Linked DNA regions of Homo sapiens: region 2 is linked to region 1. Evidence: promoter capture Hi-C in human tissues and cell types (Jung and others, 2019). All regions are on one chromosome and are shown on one strand. The core of a region is centred on a gene start or on the middle of the fragment in contact, and the rest is flanking DNA. Distances in the headings are between cores, read along the strand shown. Region 1 holds the start of EEF1D (eukaryotic translation elongation factor 1 delta). Region 2 holds the start of SCRIB (scribble planar cell polarity protein).

Region 1 (2,636 bases), core at 69-2,568:
CCGTTACGCGGTCGCCCCGCCAGCGCCGGCCACAGCCCCCCGCCCCGGGGTCCCCTGCGCCCGGGGGCGCAGCCTGCTCCGGAAGCAGCTTCCAGTAGAGGCCGGTGACGCTGGCGCTGTAAATCTGCTCGTCCCCGTAGCCGCCCTCGGCCGGGGGCGGCGGGGCCGGGGCGCGGTCGGGCAGGGGGCCGGCGCCGGAGGGCAGCGCGGGCTCCTCCTTGACGGGCGGGCCGGGCGCGGGGCTCGGGGCTGGGGGCCCGGCCTCGCCGTAGAAGCGCTGGCTGGAGATGCCGTGGCGCTTCTGCCAGCGCCAGAACCAGCCGTGGCTGGCCTTGAAGGTGCACTCGGGCCCGTAGATCTGGCGCGCGAAGGCCTCGGCCTGCGCCTGGATGAGCGGGCCAGACAGCGGCACCCCGTGCTGGCGCAGCGCCAGGAACCAGGCGTACACGGCGCGGTCGATCTCCTCCTCGTTGGCCAGCCGCATCTTCTTGCGCTGAGTGCCCACCTCACCGCCCAGCTGCTCCAGGAACCAGCGCAGCTTGGGCTCGTCCTTGAGCCAGCCGCGCAGCGTCCCGCCCGGCACGCCGAAGTCGCGGCACACACTGGCCTGCCGCTCGCCGCCCTTGACGCGCTCGATGGCCTGCAGCTTGTCCTTGATGGAGTAGGCCTTGCGGAAGGCCATCTTCACGGCCACGCGGGGCCGCGGCCCGGGCGCGGGGGGCGGCGGCCGTGCAGCGGGGACGGGGGCTGGGGCGGGCGCGGGGGGCCCGGGCAGGGGACGGCGGCCGCGGCGCGGTACCGGGCCGGCCGGGGGGCCCGCGGGGTACATGGCTGCGGCGGGGGGGACCCGGGCCGCGCGGGTCGCGGGAGCCACACGCCCAGCCGCTCGGGGCGGGGCACTCGGGGGCGGGGCCGCACGGGTCCCTCCCCTTTGTCCCGCAGCTTGGCGGGCGCACGCGCGCTGACCTAGCCCGGCCCGGCCCCGCCCCGCGCCTGCGCGCTGGCCGCCTCGTGCGTCACTCGGCGCTTGCCGGCTGCCGGACCCGCCCCCACCGGCGACACCACTGGCCGCGAAGCGCAGGGGGGGCGCGCGCGCTGCCGCCCGTTCCCAGCACTTGTGCAGACTCCTCCGGGGAAGAGCGGCCTCCGCGGTCATCTCCAACGGAATTCTGCCTTTGAAGTGTCGGGGCACGGCGCGTCGAGGGTCCTGGCGGCCAGGCGGGGCGTGTGCAAGGGTCGCGTCCCCCCCCCGGGCCCCCGGCCCGTGGCTCTTGGTAGAGCCCAGTGCTTCATTTCCCGTGCGCGGCCCGGGCGGCCCTCCCTTTCATCAGTCTTCCCGCGTCCGCCGATTCCTCCTCCTTGGTCGCCGCGTCCTTGGCTGGCGTGTGAGTACCGCGGCCCCCGCCGGAAGGAGTCGGGCGCGACAGAGACGCCCGAGGGGCCGGGAGGGCGGGCGGCCCGGGCTGCGCCAGAAGCTCGCGCCGTTAGGGACTGAGGCACAAGTGCGCCAGCGCGGGCTTAGGGGCCGTGGGCCAAGTGCGGCACTTGGGGCGAGCGCAGAGAGGCGGGGCGACGGAGGCCACGTGGCCGGCTTGGAGGGCGTCCGCGGGACGGGGGCGCCGGGAGCACTGTCTCACGGCGCATCCCGGTCGTGGAAGCCCCTCGGCCAGGCTGCTGGGGCCTAAGGCCTGTGTTTGCTGCCGTCTCCGTGGGAGACCAGACATCTGCCCCAGCTGTTTCTCTGGCCTGCAGACCTTCGTACACCACGTCTTTGTCAAGCACCAGTTACTGCACGCATCAGCTGAGCACGGAGGGGATAGGCACGGACGCAACACTTTTGGAACTTAGACGCTAGTGAGCACGGAAAGGAATAAGCCTGTACTGTGACTGGGTCAAAATTTCTGTCTCTTGATTTGGATAGGGTGGTCGGGCAGTCTCTGAAGGGGGCGGGGATGCTGTTGCTAAGAAGTAGTACTTTCAGAGGCTTTAAGTGGAAGGAAGAAGGCAAAGGGGGCGGAGTGGGTTGGGGACCTGATGAGACGTCAGGATTGGTTTCCAGAATGAAGGACCGCCTGGCAGCAGAAGAACTGTGTAGCTAAACTTGGGGTTGTCCCTGCCCGACAGGGCGGGGTGCTTCTTAAGTTGACACTGCCTGCGGCTCACCTCCCAGGGAGGCAGGCCAGGCCATCTCACCTGAGCAGCCTCCTTCTACAGCTCCGCCCACCCCGTCATCTGGACCCCATGAGCCTTAAGCAGCTGGCTCGCAGGCAGTTGGTTACTTCCGGAGCCCGTGTGTGCCCAGCCCCGTTCTGGGGGTGGGGGATGCAGCTGAGGGGCTGGGCAGGTGTGGAAGGAGCCCCCGAGCGTCCTCTGAGGAAGTAGACGCTCACCTTCGCCTTCTCACCACATGCCTCAGGCCCAGCCAGGCTCCTAGACCTGCCTCTGTAGAGGCTTTCTGGGCGCAGTGCCAATCCTGTGAGACAGCAGCATCTCCCCTGGGCTGCTGCAGGGTTCACACGCAGTCAGTGCTGGCAGAGTGAGCGCCCAGCCGACAGAGCCCCCGCTGCCTCCCGCCTCCTCTGGAGGACTAGGCCCTCTGGGCTTTGCTCCCGGGTTGCTGGGTGAGGCTGCAAGGT
Region 2 (2,636 bases), core at 97-2,596, 220 kb before region 1:
CGGTCACCATCCCCTCGGTGGGAGTGGTGAACCCCATCCTGGCCAGCCCTCCAACGCTGGGTCTCCTGGAGCCCAAGAAGGAGAAGGAAGAAGAGGAGCTGTTTCCCGAGTCAGAGCGGCCAGAGATGCTGAGCGAGCAGGAGCACATGAGCATCTCGGGCAGTAGCGCCCGACACATGGTGATGCAGAAGCTGCTCCGCAAGCAGGAGGTAGGCAGAGGGGCAGGGTGGTGGCGGGGGAGAGGGTAGGGGGGCGGGGCCGCAGTGCTCAGCTGTCTTCCCCTCGGCCCTGCCCCACAGTCTACAGTGATGGTTCTGCGCAACATGGTGGACCCCAAGGACATCGATGATGACCTGGAAGGGGAGGTGACAGAGGAGTGTGGCAAGTTCGGGGCCGTGAACCGCGTCATCATCTACCAAGAGAAACAAGGCGAGGAGGAGGATGCAGAAATCATTGTCAAGATCTTTGTGGAGTTTTCCATAGCCTCTGAGACTCATAAGGCCATCCAGGCCCTCAATGGCCGCTGGTTTGCTGGCCGCAAGGTGGTGGCTGAAGTGTACGACCAGGAGCGTTTTGATAACAGTGACCTCTCTGCGTGACAGTGGTCCCTCTCCCCGGACTTGCACTTGTTCCTTGTTTCCTCTGGGTTTTATAGTGATACAGTGGTGTCCCCGGGGCCAGGCGCGCTCTGCCCAGCCCAGCCTACAGTGCGGATAAAGGTGCGGATGCTGCTGGCCCTGAACGTCCGTGTGTCTGCCGTCGGTCCTGTCACCGATCCTGGGCGTGTGTCCTTAGGGGGTCTAGGGCGAGGAGGCAGGGTTGGGGGGGTCTCTGGACCTGCTTCCTGTTGGCAGGAGGGGCCTGCCGTGGGCGAGACCTGGGCAGGGGGTTGGCGCCCCGGGCCCCGTCCCGCGGGTGGCGGCGGCTGGGTGGGCGGGGCTGCCTGGGGCGCCAGGCTCTCGCGCGCGGGCTCGCAGCCGTCCCCGCAGGGTGGTGCTGAGAGAAGGCTGGGCACCGGGACACCGCGACCCGCTGGACAGCGCGCGCTGCCAGTGCTTTTGTGCCGCAGAGCCGGCCGTCCAAGGCGGGCGGGCGGGCATGGTCGCTTCCCGGGAGGAGGCTGTGCGTTAAGATTCGTGGCCAAATGCCGCGGGGCCAGGGGCCGGGCTGAAGACCGGAGGGCGGAGGGCGCCGCCTCTCGTGGATTGTAGCTCCCAATATCCCGCGCGCGGGGCGGGCCCGGCTTCCCGGCACGCTTTGCGCGGTGCCGCTACGGGTCCTCAGAGGCGGCGGCGCGCGGGGCCTTCTGGGGGCCGCAGTCCGGGCGTGCTAGGCGGCGAGGGCCGGACTCGGCTTCCCGACGGGCTGCGCGGCGGCCGGGTGGGTGTCGGCGGGGCAGTCCGGCGGGCAGCGGCGGTTCCGGTGCGGCACAGCGGGCGGACGAGCGGGCGGGACGAGCTGAGCAGGACCAAGCGGGATGCGGAGCCGCCGCCGCCGCCGCTCCCCGCGCTTCCTAAGAGTCTGAGACCCGCCGGGCCGCGCCCCCTGCCCAGGCCCGCAGTCCGAGCGTTCCGAGCGCGGGCCGGGCCCAGCGCCGGCCGCGGCCGCGTCCCCGTCCAGTCTCGGGCGGCCCGCCCCCTGCCTGCGCCCCCTCCCCATGCGCGGCGCCCATGCGGACTGAGCCCCGCCCCCCGGCCCCGAGCCCGCCGAGCGCCGCCGCCGGAGCCCGCGCCGCCCACCCGCACCATGCTCAAGTGCATCCCGCTGTGGCGCTGCAACCGGCACGTGGAGTCGGTGGACAAGCGGCACTGTTCGCTGCAGGCCGTGCCGGAGGAGATCTACCGCTACAGCCGCAGCCTGGAGGAGCTGCTGCTCGACGCCAACCAGCTGCGCGAGCTGCCCAAGGTGAGCGGCCGCCCGCACCTGCCGCCCAAAGGCGCGCCCCCAGCCCGTGATTCCTCCGGCGGCAGAATCTGCCCGGGCGAGTCACCGCAGCCTCCAGCCGGCCCTGCTGGTTTGCACTGGCCAGGTCCCCACCCCAGCCAGCCCCACCCTTCTCTTCCAGCCGCCCTGGCTGGCGCAGGTGGCAGCGGTCATCAGGTGCTTGCCTGGGGATAGCGATTGTCACCGAGCCTGGAGGCGGAGCCTCAGAGTGAAACCCGTGGGGATTCAGGGAGGTGGATGGGGTTAGGGTGGAACTTGGATTCAGGTGGCTGATGAGTACTAGCTTCTTGGGCCGCTCTGGAGGTGGGTCCAGACCTCCTCTCCTTTTTTGCTGGGTGCAGGGGTGAGTGGGGGAGCCCTCTTGATGTACTCTTTGCTCTCGGATCTGTTCGCTGTCCCCCTTTCTTTACCCTTGCTTCTCGTGGTCAGGTGCTCTCCTAAGGCTGCTACAAGAAAGGAGGCTGGAGAAAGCAGATTAAAAAGTATTTCTTTTCTGGAGATGGGGTGCTGGGTGATCAGTACCTAGGGGTTGGGTGTCCCAAAGAATGTGACCCTGTTCTGGCCGTGGCAGTGACAGCTCGGTCCTCTGTGGCCACCTGCAGGCCTCGCGCGTAGCACTGTGCCTGTGGTACTGTGTTATTGTGGGGAGCGTTTACTGAGTTCTTGCTGCAGAACCAGGCCAGGCTTGTTGT

The links. Contacts are between HindIII fragments. The study calls those that stand out against the background at their distance.
Region 2: a contact is called between the fragment with the promoter of SCRIB here and the fragment with the promoter of EEF1D in region 1, in 8 of the 25 tissues and cell types used here (IMR-90 fibroblasts, adrenal gland, dorsolateral prefrontal cortex and 5 more).

The regions. Positions count from the first base shown.
Region 1 is chr8:143,596,097-143,598,732 of GRCh38, reverse strand. It overlaps EEF1D (eukaryotic translation elongation factor 1 delta), which reads left to right and starts at 1,318. Exons shown (of 10, transcript NM_001130053.5): 1 at 1,318-1,385. It overlaps TIGD5 (tigger transposable element derived 5), which reads right to left and starts at 902. Exons shown (of 1, transcript NM_032862.5): 1 at 1-902. The coding sequence starts at 829. RefSeq lists an enhancer at 2,071-2,636. The HindIII fragment of the contact is 45,525 bases long and covers 1-2,636 here.
Region 2 is chr8:143,814,483-143,817,118 of GRCh38, reverse strand. SCRIB (scribble planar cell polarity protein) reads left to right here and starts at 1,346. Exons shown (of 37, transcript NM_182706.5): 1 at 1,346-1,905. The coding sequence starts at 1,747. PUF60 (poly(U) binding splicing factor 60) reads left to right here. Exons shown (of 12, transcript NM_078480.3): 11 at 1-209; 12 at 300-775. The coding sequence ends at 599. RefSeq lists enhancers at 754-1,386, 1,387-2,019, 2,304-2,636. The HindIII fragment of the contact is 41,605 bases long and covers 1-2,636 here.